Linked DNA regions of Homo sapiens: regions 1, 2, 3, 5 and 6 are each linked to region 4. The links are contacts of gene promoters, found by promoter capture Hi-C in blood cells and fetal thymus (Javierre and others, 2016). All regions are on one chromosome and are shown on one strand. Each heading gives the region's core, a stretch centred on a gene start or on the middle of the fragment in contact. The rest is flanking DNA. Distances are from core to core; before and after follow the strand shown.

Evidence for each region. Contacts are between HindIII fragments. The CHiCAGO score rates a contact against its expected background, and 5 or more counts as called.
Region 1: a fragment that was not itself captured here is called in contact with the fragment with the promoter of TTC7B in region 4 in 1 of 17 cell types (megakaryocytes); the score reaches 5.8 in megakaryocytes.
Region 2: a fragment that was not itself captured here is called in contact with the fragment with the promoter of TTC7B in region 4 in 1 of 17 cell types (megakaryocytes); the score reaches 6.3 in megakaryocytes.
Region 3: a contact is called between a fragment that was not itself captured here and the fragment with the promoter of TTC7B in region 4, in 1 of 17 cell types (endothelial precursors). The highest score is 5.4, in endothelial precursors.
Region 5: a contact is called between a fragment that was not itself captured here and the fragment with the promoter of TTC7B in region 4, in 1 of 17 cell types (megakaryocytes). The highest score is 5.8, in megakaryocytes.
Region 6: a contact is called between a fragment that was not itself captured here and the fragment with the promoter of TTC7B in region 4, in 3 of 17 cell types (endothelial precursors, erythroblasts and M1 macrophages). The highest score is 7.0, in endothelial precursors.

The regions. Positions count from the first base shown.
Region 1 is chr14:91,166,984-91,169,761 of GRCh38, reverse strand. DGLUCY (D-glutamate cyclase) reads right to left here. Exons shown (of 14, transcript NM_001102368.3): 4 at 2,384-2,537. Among named protein-coding and RNA genes, the nearest start is that of SNORA11B, 42 kb to the right of the region's middle. The HindIII fragment of the contact is 1,825 bases long and covers 531-2,355 here.
Region 2 is chr14:91,300,948-91,303,647 of GRCh38, reverse strand. All of the region lies in intron 20 of CCDC88C (coiled-coil domain containing 88C), which reads left to right. Among named protein-coding and RNA genes, the nearest start is that of GPR68, 58 kb to the right of the region's middle. RefSeq lists silencers at 66-225, 386-445. The HindIII fragment of the contact is 6,207 bases long and covers 1-2,700 here.
Region 3 is chr14:90,407,828-90,410,686 of GRCh38, reverse strand. CALM1 (calmodulin 1) reads right to left here. Exons shown (of 6, transcript NM_006888.6): 6 at 2,419-2,859. Among named protein-coding and RNA genes, the nearest start is that of CALM1, 12 kb to the right of the region's middle. The HindIII fragment of the contact is 261 bases long and covers 1,134-1,394 here.
Region 4 is chr14:90,815,131-90,817,999 of GRCh38, reverse strand. It overlaps TTC7B (tetratricopeptide repeat domain 7B), which reads left to right and starts at 1,570. Exons shown (of 20, transcript NM_001010854.2): 1 at 1,570-1,825. The coding sequence starts at 1,705. RefSeq lists a silencer at 1,397-1,576. The HindIII fragment of the contact is 10,969 bases long and covers 1-2,869 here.
Region 5 is chr14:91,146,730-91,149,430 of GRCh38, reverse strand. The region is part of intron 1 of DGLUCY (D-glutamate cyclase); the gene reads right to left. Among named protein-coding and RNA genes, the nearest start is that of SNORA11B, 22 kb to the right of the region's middle. The HindIII fragment of the contact is 3,526 bases long and covers 1-2,701 here.
Region 6 is chr14:90,387,717-90,390,488 of GRCh38, reverse strand. No RefSeq gene overlaps it. Among named protein-coding and RNA genes, the nearest start is that of CALM1, 7.9 kb to the left of the region's middle. The HindIII fragment of the contact is 3,178 bases long and covers 1-2,772 here.

The sequences.
Region 1 (2,778 bases), core at 194-2,693, 350 kb before region 4:
CTCCTATACCCGCAAGCCAAAACAAGCCAAACCACCGAGAAAAGTAAATGGTGGCCAGGCACGGTGGCTCATGACTGTAATCCCAGCACTTTGGGAGGCCGAGGCGGGCAGATCACTTGAACTCCGGAGTTCAAGACAAGCCTGGGCAACAAGGTGAAACCCCGTCTATACTAAAAATACAAAAACTAGCCAGGCATGGTGGTACACAGCTGTAATCTCAGCTACTCAGGAGGCTGAAGCAGGAGAATCGCTTGAACCTGGGAGGTGGAGGTTGTAGTGAGCCGAGATCGTGCCACTGCACTACTCCAGCCTGGGCAACAGAGTGAGACTGCCTCAAAGAAAAAAAAAAAAAAAGAAGAAGAAGAAAAGTAAATGGTGGCCTCTCTGCTATAGAGGTAGGACCAGTAGCCCAAAGGGGACAGAGAATATGTGTCTTGGGGAACCTCTCAGTGCCAGTAGTGGGTGAGGCCTTTCTCTTCCCTTAAAGGAAACTCTTCTGTAGGGTTGAAAGACTTCTTTGGTTACAAGCTTATTCTTTACCCACTCCAAACTCTTTTACTGAGCCATGCCTTCATGCCGGGCACATGCTGGGCGATGGGGCTAGAGTAATGGAGAGGACACTGTCCCAGTCTTTTTTTCTTTTTTTAATGTTTTTTATTTATTTATTTTTTTTTTGAGACAGAGTCTTGCTCTGTTGCCCAGCCTGGAGTGCAGTGGTGCAACCTCGGCTCACTGCAACCTCTGCCTCCCAGGTTCAAGTGATTCTCCCACCTCAGCCTCCCAAATAGCTGAGATCATAGGCCCGAACCACCATGCCCGGCTAATTTCTGTATTTTTAGTAGAGACAGCGTTTCACCGCGTTGGCCAGGCTGGTCTCGAATTCCTGATCTCAGGTGATCTGCTCTCCTTGGCCTCCCAAAGTGCTGGGATTACAGGCGTGAGCCACCGCGCCCATCCCATCCCAGCATTTAAAGAGCTCGTAACCCTAATTGATAGGTGAGACTTCACTGAAAACACATACTGGCAATACACAGCAAGGAATGTCAACCGTCTAGGTAGAGTGACACAGAGAAGGAAGAAATCAATTCTCTTCCACAGAGGAGTTTGGTGCTGGGTCTTGAGGCATGAATAGGAGTTTGCCAGTTGGGCAAGGAAGAAGGCATACCCAGGCAGAGGAAGCAGCACGTGGAAAGCCCACTGGGGGATGGGCTCCAGGAGTTTCCAAGTTGGCAGCACAGGAGGCACCGGGGAAAAATGTAAAGGTACAATCATGGGCCCAGATGGGGTCTCCAAAGGACCTTCCCGTCCTAAAATGATCATGACAGAATGTTCCTGGGGGGTTTTCTGTCTCGGGAACTGGCTGGGGATGACTGGAGTGTCAGGGGTCAGGGGAGAAACTGAGCTGGGGCCAGGTCACCATGGGCTTGAGATCAGGCTGAGGTCCAAGCCATAAGAAGATGCTGAAGAATTTTATTTTATTTTATATATATATATTTTAGACAGGGTCTTGCCCTGTTGCCCAGGCTGGAGTGCAGTGACATGATCTCGGCTCACCGCAGCCTCAACCTCCTGGTCTCAAGCAATCCTCCTCAGCCTCCCGAGTAGCTGGGACCACAGGTGTGCACCGCTATGCCCAGTTAATTTTTAAAAAAAAAATTTGTAGAGACCAGGTCTTCCCTATGTTGCCCAGGCTGGTCTCAAACTCCTGGGCTCAAGCCATCCTCCTGCCTCAGCCTCCCGAAGTACTGGGATTACAGGCATGAACCACAGCACCCAGTCTGAAGGAGTTTTAAGAGGAGAGCCACATGATCGGGTTTAGCATTAGAAAGTCACTCTGCTGGGAAAGCAGATGATGACAGGGTTGGGGAAGAAAGGATGAGACTAGGGCTAGGCCAGGGAAGATGCCAGTCTGTGCTGGTGCCATAGGAAAGGTAGACTCGTGGGAGAGGTACACCGACCCAGCATCAGTAGGGCCATTTACTAGATAGGTTCTAGTTTAAAAGCCTGGGAGAACAGACACAATATCTCTGTCTCTGGGTGTTGGTAATGCAAGTGTTTTTTATTTTCTTCTTAATCCTGTACAGGCGGGTTTCTGGCTTGGGCGATGGAGTGGACAGATGGCAGAGCCAGTGGGATTTCTCCAGGGCTGGACTTTCTCCATGATCTCAAAGATCTCAGCCAGGACAGGCGCCAGGTGATAGGGGAAGGAGTCAGAACAGTGGGGAGGGCAGCTCGTTCCTGAGCAACAGTCATGAGTGAGGTTCTGTGCCAGGCACTGTGAAGGTCCCTGAGGCTGGACAGAGAGGTCCCGGATGACAGAGACACCTGGCTACAGCACCTGGACACTCCCAAGCTTCAACCCACAGTAACCCAAGCTTTTTACCTGGTCTCTGAGATAGCACCTTGAGGGGGCAGCATCCACTTTTCTGGCTCACTCTGGCCCAGCAGGGGTAGAGGACCAGTGTTGACCTGGCAGAATCTTTCAAAAGCTGGAGCAAGGGACCTGGGCAGGACCACCAGGCTGGCTGGTCGGAGCTCTGGGTATGGTGGGAGAAGGGAAAAATGTATAGTCAGCGGTTTCTTGGCAGACACTTACTGATTTTCTTTCTTTTTTTTTTTTTTGAGGCGGAGTTTCGCTCTTGTAGCCCATGCTGGAGTGCAATGGCACAATCTTGGCTCACTGCAACCTCCGCCTCCTGGGTTCAAGCAATTCTCCTGCCTCAGCCCCCCGAGTAGCTGGGATCACAGGCGTCTGCCACCACGCCTAGCTAATTGTTT
Region 2 (2,700 bases), core at 68-2,567, 490 kb before region 4:
GCTGGGCCCAGGGGGAAAGGTGGGGCCTGGGGTAGATGGGTGGGACCTAGGGGAGAGGCAGGGCCTGGGGAAGATGGGTGGAGCCTGGAGGAGATGGGTGGGACCTGGGGGAGAGTGATAGAGCCTGGAGGAGGGGTGGGGCCTGGGGAGAGGGGTGGAGCCTGGAGGAGAGGCAGAGCCTGGGGAGAGAGGTGGAGCCTGGAGAGAGGCGGGGTCTGGGGGAGGTGGGTAGGACCTGTGGGAAAGGCAGGGACTGGGGGAGATGGGTGGAGCCTGGACGAGAGGCGGGGGCCTCGTGAGAAGGGTGGAGCCTGGAGGAGAGGTGGAGCCTGGAGCAGAGGTGGGGTCTCAGGAGAGGGTCTCAGGAGAGGCAGGGCTTTGGGGAAGTGGGCAGGGCCCGGGGGAGAGGCAGGGTGTGTGGGGAGGGGAGGTGAAGGAGGGTGGAGGTGGGGCCCCTGGGTAGGCCTGCAGCGGGGCCTGAGGCCAGGCCTGGGGAGTCTGTCAGGCTGCGCGGAGGACTGGGACTTCCCTGGACCTCCCCTGCAGGAAATCTCTTGGCCAGCTGCTTCCCATTGTTGGGGCACCTGAGCTTTCCCAAAAGGAAGGAAATAAACGTTACCTTTAGCAATTTGGAATTTGTGCAACTGAAGACAGTAGTAAGAGGGGCTCCTGTGTGGAGAAGGGGATGCCTCTACTATTTCCAGTGGGCCTTTGGGGCCCTGATCCCTAAGGGTTCTCTTCTGTCTCTTTTCTCCCCAAAACAGAAATAAGGAGGGAATTCTCCACGGCTCCGTTTGTAGGGGTATGCCTTCTCTGGCCTCCCAGCTCTTCTCTTTCATATCAAGGTCTCGCTTGCTTTTTTTCATTTTTAACCTTTAATTATGGAAACTTCCGAACATATAGAAAGGAAGCAGAATCATATAGTGAAACTCTTGTGTATGCATCATGCACTCTCGACAGTCATTTATGTCCTGCTGTTCTCATTTCATGTGCACCTCCCACTCTCCACACCCTCACCCCATTTTTTACAGGTAAAACTTACATTGAAATGCACACATCTTAACTTTGCACTCTTGACAGTTCATGGTCTTGGGTTTTGTATTCATTAAGTCAGCCAATCTGGGCTGGGATTCTGTCTCCTGCTGATCAGTGATGGTACCAGGCACCTGCGCAGGGCATGGCAGGATCCAGGGAGGGCTAGGAGAGGTAGGATGCTGCTCTCCAGAGTCTGAGGGGCAGGTGTGATGTGCACCTGAATCTGATGCATGAGAGAGACATGGCTAAAGAGAGGCTCTCAGGTACTTGGAGTACAACAGAGGGAGCAAGATCTACTTCCTTTGCCTGGGAAATGGCCCTGCTGATGGTATATCCTTTGGAGCCGCCTCAACAACATGGCTAAGTGATCGTTGGTTCTTCAAGGTGGGAGTGGGGAGGACATCTCCACGGTCAGGAGCCACAAATGTCATTGAATCACAAAAGCCTTGTGCGGGCGCTGATGATGCTTGTGGGTTCATGGGTGGTGATGACATTCATTTATTCACTTGCCAAGTGCTTCCTTTTTGTCTCTATCTGGAGTTCTTCACCCCTTTTATCCATCCAGATCTCCATCCTTCAGGGGCTGTTGAGGCATCTGAAACTATAAGACTACTCCTTCCGGCCTAAAGTAGCATCTTCTGCCTCTTTTCACTTTGATCTCTCCCTCGTCTTCCCCCACCCATCTTGTTATTTGTGTGACATTTATTGTGTACGTGGTGCTGTGTCTAGACATGGTAGGAGTTGCACCCAGCTGACAAACTAATGAAGCATTCGTGTAAGTCTGATACTAGCATGATGCCCAGCACTCACCAGGCACTTGCGTGCCTTATTCTTAGTGTTATGTTATGTCGTATTAAATAATGCTGTATTGTATTCTTTCCTTCTTTCTTTATTTTGAGATGGAGTCTCACTCTGTCGCCCAGGCTGGAGTGCAGTGGAGCGATCTTGGCTCACAGCAGCCTCCACCTCCCGGCTTCAAGCAATCCTCCTACTTCAGCCTCCCAAGTAGCTGGGACTACAGGCATGCACCACCACACCCGGCTAATTTTTGTATTTTTTAGTAGAGATGGGGTTTCACCATGTTGACCAGGCTGGTTTTGAACTCCCTACCTCAAGTGATCCACCTGTCTCGGCCTCCCAAAATGCTGGGATTATAGGCGTGAGCCACCGTGCTGACCCCTTATTGTATTCTTAATGTGCATTCAGAGAGCAAAGGTTTTGGCAGGTGGAGTCTGGACTGTTGTTTTCCCTGCAGGTCCTTGCTCAGTACAGCATGTGGTAGTTACTCAGTGCTTTTTGCTGGTTGGACAGATGACTGGAGGCTCCCTTGCTGTGTCTGCAGCAGGGCTACAGGTTTAGGAGTGTAGGTACATGGCACACAAGGATGATGGTTTTCTCTTCTTCTCATTTGACACTAAAATCGGAGACGCTCACCCACTCATTGCTCTAACAAGCATTCACTACGTGTCATTCCTCACACGGGGATTCAGTGGTGAGTAAGAGTTATAAAGTTTCTGCCCTACAGTTGGGTCATTGCTAATGGTTAGAGACATGCTTGATTAATGTGCTTTTCCAACAAGGTGCAGTGGAGTCCTGAAGAGAAAGGCCAGAAACCCCAGGGACACTGGCTAGCCTCTGTCAGATTGTCTTTGGGTGTGAGACACT
Region 3 (2,859 bases), core at 15-2,514, 410 kb after region 4:
AATTACTTTTTTACTTATTTTCCATTTTTAAAACAATCTATCTCAAATCTTGATTCTGATATGTCTATGCAGGAAAAAATCTATCTTTTGCTAAAAAATGCAGTAACTTAAAAAAAATCACAACTTGAAGGGTATACAAAGACTCAAAATGAAAAATCAGTTTAAAAGCAAACATGCTTACATACAGCCAGGATCTAAAGATCTTGTTGTAACAAAATGTTCAAATAATTATATTGCTAGAGGAAACTCTGGATTTTCCTTTTAGCCTTTGTAAAACTGAAAATAAAACTAAGATATGATATTGAAAAGACTATCTGGGGCTGGGTACAGTGACTCATGCCTATAATCCCAGCACTTTGGGAGGCCAAGGCGGACAGATGACCTGAGGTCAGGAGTTCAAAACCAGCCTCGCCAACATAGTGAAACTCCGTCTCTATTAAAAATACAAAAATTAGCCAGACGTGGTGGTGTGCGCCTGTAGTCCCAGCTACTCAGGAGGCTGAGGCAGGAGAATTGCTTGAACCCAGGAGGCGAAGGTTGCAGTGAGCCAAGATCACACCACTGCACTCCAGCCTGAGTGACAGAGCAAGACTCTGTCTCAAAAAAAAAAAAAAAAAAAAAAAAAAATTATCTGAGCCAAGGCACAGTGGCTCACACTTGTAATCCCAACACTTTGGGAGGCCAAGGTGGGAGGATTTGTTGAGCCCAGGAGTTTGAGACCAGCCTAAGCAACATGTGAAACCGCGTCTGCATAAAAAAATTTAAAAATTAGCTGAGCACAGCAGCACATCCCTGTAGTCCCAGCTACTGGGGGGGCTGAGGTGGGAGGATCATTTGAACCTGGGAGGTGGAGGCTGCAGTGAGCTGTGATTGTGCCACTGCACTCCAGCCTGAGTGAGAATGAGACCCCACCTCAAAAGAGAAAAAAAAAACCCCACAATCTGAATGTGTCAATTCACACTCATTCCTAAGGTTCCTGACACAAAGAACATAATTCTCATGAGGAAAACTGCCACTTGATTTAATCAGAGTTCAGGGGCTTTAATGGGAGTTCTGGTCCATGAGCTAACTCCTCCCACTCCTTGGCAGAGAGTTGAGGGCAGTGGGAGAGAAGCACCAAGCTATAAAAAGCTTTATGTTTTATTTCCTTCTAAGGCATCCTGAGTCATTGGGTGCTCCAGCCCCCCAGTGCCCGGGAAAGTTCAGCTTGAATCGGAAATGTGTGTGTGTTTTTCTAAACCGGAGCTGCTGAAAACCAGATGATGTCACTTGGACTGAATCCCTTACAGGCCCAGTGGTAGCCTCCTATTTCCGTCCTGGGAGAATGGAAGTCACTTAACAATCAGTTTCTCTGACCCAGGTTCCAATATTACATCACGTCTTAATAGCAAGCTTAACCTCCACTCCACCTCCAACATGAAGCTGGTGAGAATTTTTAAATCCCATTTGTCATCTCAAAGGACACAGCACTCCTACACAATTTTGCCTCCCATCCTTTAGGCTGCAATTTCATCTATCTAAACACAAAGTGATGCCAAACCAGGTCGGTCATAATCCTAGAAAGCCACAGGCAGAAGGTACCAAGTCCAATATGATCTTACCAAGGAGGATACCAAGGCCTGGGAAAGGTAAAGAACCTGCCTGAGGCTGGAGGGACAGAACCAAATCCAGAAGCCAGGTCTAAAGCCTCAGAGCAGAGGGCCGTCTCCACGGTGATGACCATGTCCTTATAGTCCCAGCTCCTATGTGCAGGAGGGGCTCTTTAAATGCTTTCTGGAGATGTGTCTCAAGCCTTCTGTCGAAAGCAGGGCCTTATCCCGCCCCGCTTTTCAGCCCTCTCACTCCTTCTGGGCAGAGTGGGAAACACACGAGGCAGCTGGAAAAGGCCTTTCTGGAAGCAAAGGGGGCAGAAGCAGGCAGCCTCTCCTGCTACATCTAAGAACCAGGGTCTGGGCCAGTGTTGACTAAGGGGAAGGCTTCAATGCCAAGGTCCTAAATTGTACTTGCATCCCACCCCACTTTCCTCAGCTGTCCCGCTCTTGACATGAACCAAGGTATCATCTTGGTTGTCATCTAAAATTCCCATCTTATTGAAAAAAATGTATTTCTTTATACAAGTCCTAAAGAGGCTTGGATTGGGGTTAAAAGGAAACTAATCCTTATGGTGTAAATTTTCCGCATAAAAAGCAAGCATGGACAAGTTAATAGGCTAAGAGAATAGGTTAAAATGTCAGCTATTAACACTCAAACTACTTAAAACTAGGGTAAGACGGTTGTGGGATGTGTCTACGGTTATTTCTGGCCCCTCACTCTCACAGTACTAGAGACCCAGTGAAATTACATCTGAGGGCAGGTCTATCTTGTTGAGAGCAAAAGGAATTGAAAGCTATGCAAGCTAGAAACCTACACAGTTCGCAGTTAGAGATGAAAGGCTGCAGAAATGTTTATTGAATACAGTGCCAGGTTTATAAATAAAACGTATTTACAATTTCCATAGAGTTGGTCCCCCATCAGAGAGGTGGTTAAATCTCCAAACAGTTTATCTCAAGATTTACAGAAACGTCCAAGTACATCTCCTTTTCAAATAGCCATGGTGAAGGGCAACTTCAGTAACAAAAGAACTACCACCATCTTTGCTACAGAAGTGTTTAATAAACATCATAATAGATTTGGAGAAAGAACACACACTCCACCCATGCCACTACCTTCTTACTCCAAGGGATACAGACAGCAAAGAATTTCTGTCTCCTACAGGACAACTTCAGGGGATTAAAAAAACAGTAACTGCCAGCTGGAGGGATAGATTAAGACACATTAGTGGAAATCTAGTCACTGCCAAAGGAGAAATATATTTAGGAT
Region 4 (2,869 bases), core at 321-2,820:
TGCCACCACGCCCGGCTAATTTTTAAAAATATTTTTAGTAGAGACGGGTTTCACCATGTTAGCTAGGACGGTCTCGATCTTCTGACCTCGTGATCCGCCCACCTCGGCCTCCCAAAGTGCTGGGATTACAGGCGTGAGCCACCGTGCCCAGCCAAAAGCCAAGGTCTTATAATGGCCCACCAGGCACTACACAGAACTCCCCCCAACCTCTCAGAGTTCATCTCCTGCCTCGGCCCCTCTCCTTCGCTCCACCCAGCCCCTCTGGCCTCTGCCATTTCTCCATCCCACCCAGTGTGCTCTAACCCCAGAGCCTTCGCACTTGTGGTGTTCTCTGCCTGGGATACTCCTCCCCCAGAGATATCCTCATGGCTCCCCCTTAGTTTCTTCAAGTCTAATGCCACCTCCGTGAGGCCATCCCTGACTGCTCCATTTTAAATGGCAACACTTGCTCAGGCTGAAGTGCGTTCACTGCTCACTGCAGCCTCCACCTTCTGGGCTCAAGCAATCATCCTGCCTCAGCCTCCTGAGTAGCTGGGATTACAGGCATGAGCCACCCGCCTGTCCCAACTCTTTATGTTCCTCACTGAACCCTTCCCTGTTTCTTCAAATAGCCATTTTTACAGTCTAGTTTACTATTTTATTTTGCTTATTTTTCCCCCAAACTGGAATGTAAGCTCTCTCAAGCCAGGAATTTTGTTTTTTTAGCTCACAATTCTATCTCTGGCACCTAAAGCAGCGCCCAGCACATAGTAGGTGATCACTAGACAGTTGATTCACTGAGAGAACACAGAGGGACACCTCCCTAGGTCTCAGTCTAGGTGGCCAAGACAGGAGGCCCCACCAGTGACTGTGCCTTCCCCTCAGGGGGTCCGAGAGCTGGCGTGTGAGAGTGGCAGCCCCTGCCTGGCTCCGCTCAGCCATCTAGGGCACCCCTGGCAGGTGCTGTGCCTTGCCTGGGATGGAGGAGTCTCCGTCCACCTCTGGCTGGGTAGGGGCTAAGGCTGCGGGGCAGAGGGGCATCTGCTAAGGGGCACAGGCCAACCGGGCCCCAGGGAACCGCTGGCCACCTGAGATGGCAGGACAAACTCGGGCAGGCCTCCCCCCACCCCTCACACCTGGCTCACTGGTCCCACCGGGCGGTGACCTTCCCCAGGGTCACTGCCCTTTCTTGGCCCTACTCCTGGGGATCCAACCCGCTCCCAGGCTGTCGCTAGCTCCCTCCCGATCCTCTCCCTCCCCTTCATCCTGCCCAGACCCCTACCCCACCAGACCCCTCACCCGCCCTTGGTCAGATCTCTCTCCTACCCCGCTCCCCCACCCCCATCCCCACTTCCCCTCGGTCTTCACCCCGCCCCAGACACCCCCAGTCCCTCTCCCTGTCCTCCATGCCCACCCCGCCTTTCCTCCCTCGGGCCCCTGTCTCCCGCCCTAGCCCCCGCCCCTGCCCCAGCCCTGGCTCCGGCCCCGGTCAGTGCTGCGGCTCCGGCCCTGGCCGGCAGGGGCCGCTCCTCGCGGCGCCCGGGGCCCCGCCGCGCCCGCCGCCGCCGCCCGCCTCCCCGCCCCTTCCCCAGCCGGCGCTCCCGTTACGCCGCGGAGCCGGGAGCCGGAGCCCGAGCCCGCGGCGGCGGCGGGAGGCGGCGAGGGGGCGCCGCGGCGGCGGCGGTGGGGCCTGCGGGGCGGGCGGCCGGGCCCGGCCAGGCCGCGATGGCGACCAAGAAGGCAGGCTCGCGGCTGGAGACGGAGATCGAGCGCTGCCGCTCCGAGTGCCAGTGGGAGCGGATCCCTGAGCTCGTCAAGCAGCTGTCGGCCAAGCTCATCGCCAACGGTACGCTCCGGGCGCGCCGGCCTGGGCTGCGGGGGGCGCCGCGGCCTCCGCGGGAACGGGCCCCCGAGGCGCGGCCGGGCGCGGGGCGCGGGCAGGGGCGCGGCCGGGCCGCGAGGGAGCTGCGGCCCAGGGGATGTGCGCGGGACCGGGGCCTGGGGGAGCCCGGGTGCCCCGGAGTCACGCGGTGTGGGGGCCCGGGGGGGCGCCAGGGGCTGTCCCGGCGCCTGGGGTTCAAGCGTGCAGGGCGGGCTTCTGCGGAGTCTGGGGTGTCCGGGGGTCTCAGCGAGTCCGCTGCTCCACTGGGACCACAGGAGGTCAGGGGCCGGCCTGGGGCTTCCAAGAAGTTGGAGGTGATGGGGTGAGGGGGTCCCTCAGGACATGGGTGAAGTCCACAGTGTGTGTATGGTGTGCTCAGGGAATCAGGATGTGTTTATGGGGTCTTGAGAATGGGGTGTTGTACATAGACCCCTGGGGAATCTGGTTTGTAAACATATGGTGTTTAAGGGGTTCTGGGTGGAAGCGCAGACTCGAGGTGTGTGGGGTGGTGGTAGAAAGCAGGCTGGGATGTGCGTCCTGGCGTTCGGAGAAGTAGCATCAAGGCTGCCGACCTAGAGAGGTCAGGGTTGGGAATAGAGGAGAAATAGAGTCAGGGGGACCTGGAGGGAGAATATTGTGGAGCGAGATGGGAATGTGGTTGAAGAATGTCGGGAGATGGAGTTGGGTGGGTGAGGGGTTGGTGCCTGGGCCAGAAGGGGGTCTGAGGCAGCCTCTGAGTAGGAGCCTGGTGCCTGGAGTTGGTTCATGACCCCTTTAACTGGATTGGTTCTTGTACCCAATCAAATAAAATTGCATCCAGAATCCCATTCCAGTGCACAGCTCCACGTGGCCTTATTTGTTTTGGAAGCGAGTATCTTTAATATTTGCTTGTCTTTTAGTACCCGCCTAAAGCGCAGGCACCAGCACACCGTGGCCAGAGGGCAGAGGGTTTGTCTCATTTCATCCTGGGCTTCCCCAGGCCCAGTGAGCACATGTTGGCTGAACAAA
Region 5 (2,701 bases), core at 18-2,517, 330 kb before region 4:
CTCCCTGGTTGGAGAGACTGGGGGCTCCACACATCTCCATCACTGGGAGAGAATTTGCCAGAGTGATAACGACCTAGAGACACCACCTGCATACACAGAAGACAGGCTGAACTAATAGCAAAGTATGCAAACTCTTTGGGCCTCAGTTTCTTTCTTTTCTTTTCTTTTCTTTTTTTTTTTTTTGAGATAGAGTTTCGCTCTTGTTGCCCAGGCTGGGGTGCAATGGCACCATCTCGGCTCACAGCAACCTCCGCCGCACGGGTTCAAGTGATTCTCCTGCCTCAGCCTCCCGAGTAGCTGGGATTACAGGCATGCGCCACCACGCCTGGCTAATTTTGTATTTTTAGTAGAGACGGGGTTTCTCCATGTTGGTCAGGCTGATCTCAAACTCCCCACCTCAGGTGATCCACCCGCCTCGGCCTCCCAAAGTGCTGAAATTACAGGTATGAGCCACCGCGCGTAGCCTTTACTTTTCTTTTTTTGAGACAGGGTCTCACTCTGTCGCCCAGGCTGGGGTGCAGTGGCACAATCACGGCTTACTGCAGCCTTGACCTCCTGGGATCAAGCGATCCTCCTACCTCAGCTTCCTCAGTAGCTGCTACTACAGGTACACTGCACCATGCCTGGCTAACTTCTGTATTTTTTTGGTAGAGACAAGGTTTCACTATCTTGTCCAAGGCTGGTCTTGAACTCTTGAGCTCAAGTGATCCTCCTGCCTTGGCCTCCCAAAGTGCTGGGGTTACAGGCATGAGCCACTGCGCCCAGCAAGGGCCTCAGTTTCTTCATGTCAAATGCCACACATGCAGGACAGACATTTTGTTAGCACCTTCTGGTTCTATCATTTTCGTAATCTGTAACTAAACAATAATTTATGAGTTAATGATGTTATTGAGTTTTAAGTTTTTGGTTGTTAAAATAAATTCCTAGCCAGGCACAGTGGCTCATGCCTATAATCCCAGCACTTTGAGAGGCCAAGGTGGGTGGATCGCTTGAGCTCAGGAGTTCGAGACCAGCCTGAGCAAAATGGTGAGACCCTGTCTTTACTAAAAATACAAAAAAATAGCCAGGCATGGTGGTACACACCTGTGGTCCCAGCTACTTGGGAGGCTGAGGTAGGAATATCGCTTGAGCCTTGGGGGTGGAGGTTGCAGTGAGCCGAGATGGAGCCACTGCACTCCAGCCTGGGTGATGGAGAGAGATCCTGTCTCAAGAAAAAAAAAAAATCCTTTGTTAGAGATGTGTGTATCTTTCTTTTTTGAGACAGAGATTTACTCTGCCATCCAGGCTGGAGTGCAGCGGTGCAATCTTGGCTCACTGTAACCTCCACCTACTTAGTTCAAGCGATTCTCCTGCCTCACCCTCCCAAGTAGCTGGGATTACAGGTGCGTGCCACTGCACCTGGCTAATTTTTGTATTTTTAGTAGAAATGGGGTTTCACTATGTTGGCCAGGCTGGTCTTGAACTCCTGACCTTAAGTGATCCACCTGCCTCAGCCTCCCAAAGTGCTGGGACTACAGGCTCACGTGCGCCACTGCGCCCCGTCTGTGTTTCTTTAATTGAGAATAAAATTACCTTCAGTTGGTTGGTCTGGTCTCAGAATCACACATTGGTCCAGAATTACACTTGCCCTGCTCTGAAGAAGAATGCCACCTGAGAGCACAAATGTATAGAAAGAAATGTACATAATAAAGCCATCACAGAAGCAGATATGATGGGACAGATATAATAACAGATGCCCTTTCAACTTGATCCTCTCATGCTAGGCCTAAAATAAAAGAGTTAGATTTAGTGTGTGTATATATGGGTTACGTTTCAGAAGACATGAAATTGGTCTAAATCTAAATAAAAATGAGCTAAGCTCTGCCTAGGTTCATTTACATTCATCTATCAACAGCCTTGCAGAGATGGTTATGTAAGTGCTACGGGATGGTTCCAGCACTTGTTTCAAAGGGTCTTTCAGTCCATTCAAGCTGCATCCAAAAATAGTTGAGGCTGGGCCCTATTCTGTACTGCCTGTGGCTTCACAAACTGAAAACCACCATATCAGACGTGGTTATGCCCTACCTTGCTCGGCTTTCTGGGTTAGATCCTCTGAAATTTCATTTTATGAGTATTCCTGATTACCAAATGTTCAGAACTCAGCTCCTGCCCCACAAATTCTTTATGACATTGCATAAAACCAGTGACAGTGCCACATCCAGGCAGGATGAGGACCACGCACTCCTAACTATGGAGACAGGAATGCTGGCAGTGCTACTTTTGAGGTCACTGTTGGCCAAGATAATTGCTTCACTAGGCAAAGGCAAACCCCCTTAAGTGAGTTTCCTGAGGACTCAGAGAGGAAGGCCACAGGTGCTCCAGGAGGAGGATGCACCATCAGGGACCTTGGACAATGACAGCAAGACAGTGAGAAGCCTCTGGGGACCATTCTACAGGGGACTTCTTCCCTGGCCGTGCAGCTGACAGGCCCCAGGAAGCAGAGTCCCTGGGCTCTCCCTGGCAGCTCTCGGTGCATTTCCAGGGGAACAGCTTGGCAGCCCCGTGCTGGGTGGTGCGCTCCATCTATTTCTATGGTACCTATCACCATGGTACCTACTTGCTCTGAAAAACACAGCTAAAAACAGAACATAAAGAATAGGAGCACAGTCCGCTTCCCTGCAGTCACCTTCTGCAGCTGTTGTTATGCCTCAAGATTGCTCTC
Region 6 (2,772 bases), core at 67-2,566, 430 kb after region 4:
AATTTGGCAACTGTGTGGTTTGGTTTTCAATCAATAAATAGCCTCTGTCCTGCCTTCTAGAGCTGTGCTGCCCAATCCAGTAGTCACTAATCACATGTGGCTATTTAAATCAAACTTAATTAAAATTTAAAATTGAGTTCCTCAGTCTTTATAGCCACATTTCAAGTGCTCAATAGGCCCATATGGCTAGTGGTTACCATATTGGGCAGCATGGAACATTTCCATCATTCCAATAAGTTACATCAGATAGCTCCATTCTAGAAATTTTAAAAAAGGAAGTATCTGTGTTTGCCTGGATCAGGAATGTTGAGGATCCCAAAATTTCTAATAGCACATCCATGATCTTTGTCTATCCCAATGAGCTTGTCCCCTTCTGATCCATCCAATGCACAGCTGCCAGCAGTTTCATCATGTCACTCCCATGCTCAAAAACCCTCAATGCCTCCCAATGCCTTTCAACAGTTTGCCAATCTACTTTTTCAGCATTACCATCCTTTGTTATTCTATACATTCTTTGCTTCAGACAAATCAGTATCGTCTCTGTCCCCTGAATATACATTGTCTCCTCTCAACTCATTGCCTTTTCCATGCCATTCCTAGTGTCCAAATGCCTATCCATATCCTCACCACCTATCTAAATCCTACGGGTCCTTCATGCCCAGTTTAAATGCAACATGTTTCAAACTTTCCTGATTATCACAACTCCAAATGAACTTCCTCTCCGCTGAATTCCTACCCCTCTTGTCCTTTTCTACCTGATATTATCGTTTCATATATCTAACATCAACCAGATAGTAGTAGAAGCCAAGATATACTTTTTGAACTCAGCATAGCATTTGACTCATTAAACACCAGTCAACTATTTAATTGATTAGTGTTGAGCTCAATTCACTCTCAGGACTGAAGAGGATATTAAAAGTGAATTTCTCAAAATACAAAAGGAAAAGAAAGTCCTTTGCTTTAATTCTGAAAGCAAGGTGGGAGGCCACACCTCCTGAGGAACATCCTGAACTATCCCTGCTTTGATCCCAACCTGTATCCTTCTACAGTCACGAGCAAGCGTATACCTTGGCTGACCCATCCTTTGGCAATTTTCTTCAGACTTTCACATAACTGGATCCATCCTCTGCTTCCTATAATGGAGAAAATATGGTCAAAGGGAAGTTGTCTTTGAACAGAAAAACCACCTCCATCTGAATCTAGTGAAGATGCTTATTGAGTTTTATTCATTCTAAGTTGAGGCTCTGAGTCATTGGCTAATAAACCAACTCCAGGCATCACAACGGGATGATTGAATCATTTGGCCACTGAAAAGATGTACCTTCAGGAGTGTTTTCAAGTTGTACAACTGAGTATCAGTGTGTCACCTTCCTTCTCATTCTCATTCTCATAAACCAAAAAGCATAGACAGAAAATTTGTCTTATTTTGATGAAGGGTTACTCAAGGCTTTGTTATTTTCATTGTTTTGACAAAGCAAATAGCTTTTTCCCAAGAAGAGGACCATATTGCTGCATCTCATTTGCTAGGTTAAATGGCTGATTCGTTGGCCACTTAGCCAGGCAGACTCAGCTATCTCATCTGTAACATTAGTGTAATAAACAAACCCTAGGGAAATATACGATGTGGTTGCGTATAATATTTAAAATATCATTGTGCTAAATGGCAATGGGTGGGTCAGAAATCCATTCAGAACCCAGGTCAGGGGGTCTGACTTAGTCTGCGGAAGGGCTCAGCAGTGGGAAGATCCAACTCGGTCTCCCATCATTTGGCAGCACCCCCAACAGGTTGGTACTCAGGGCACTGAGCCCTCAGCCGCCTCACCCTCCACCAGTCCCATGCAATTCTGCTGAGTCATCACTGTCTTCCACAGCAGCCCAAGAGATTTGTGACTCAGAGAACTGATTTGTAGTTTCATGTTTCACTGCTCCAGCTCTTCCCTGCCACACGAAGGTTCACAGTTGCACCTGTTTCCCACAAAGTTTGAAACTTAGGAAATGACCTTAAAACTGAATAGCAGCAAAACATATGAGCCATATTTTAAATGGTCTGCTGACACGGAGATTCTACTAGAGGCATTTCTGATTTTCAAGTCCTAAAGAAGGGGAAAGAACTGAGAAAAGGTATTCTGCGCTTTGTACCTGTGGGAACTTTATTTTTATTTTTTAATTTTTTATACAGATTCAATTGAGACCTGTGGGAACCTTTGCATATGGGAATACTTCGTGGTTTGAGCACACATTTCAAACTGTGTTCCGTATGGTGACACCATAGGCTCCCACCGAGCCATTCTGACTTTCGAAACTTGTATGCTGTGAATATTTGCTAGACGGCCAGCTGGGTTAGGGGGTTAGGATACTGCTGAAGCCTTGGAACAAGTTTCTCTTTCTGTGAAAGAGCACCATGCTCTAAACAAGTCCAATCATACTGTTTTAACCACCTGAAGAAAAGAAATCAAAATTTTAGAAAGCAGCCTAAAAGTCACATAATGGGAAATAAAGACATAAACATTATTCCTTTTTTATGCAGAACAAAGAGTTTATTATAAATGTTCTTCATGAAAAAAAAAACCCTTAGCAAACTGGGCTAGAAAGGATTTATTTTTTATAGATTTAAAGGGTACATTTTTGTTACATGTATATATTGCACAGTGGTGGAGTCTGGGCTTTTAGTGTGACTGTCACCTGAGTAGTATACGATGTACCCAACAGGTAATTTCTCATCCCTCACTGCCCTCCCACTTTGTGGAGTCTCCAGTGTCTATTATTCCACTC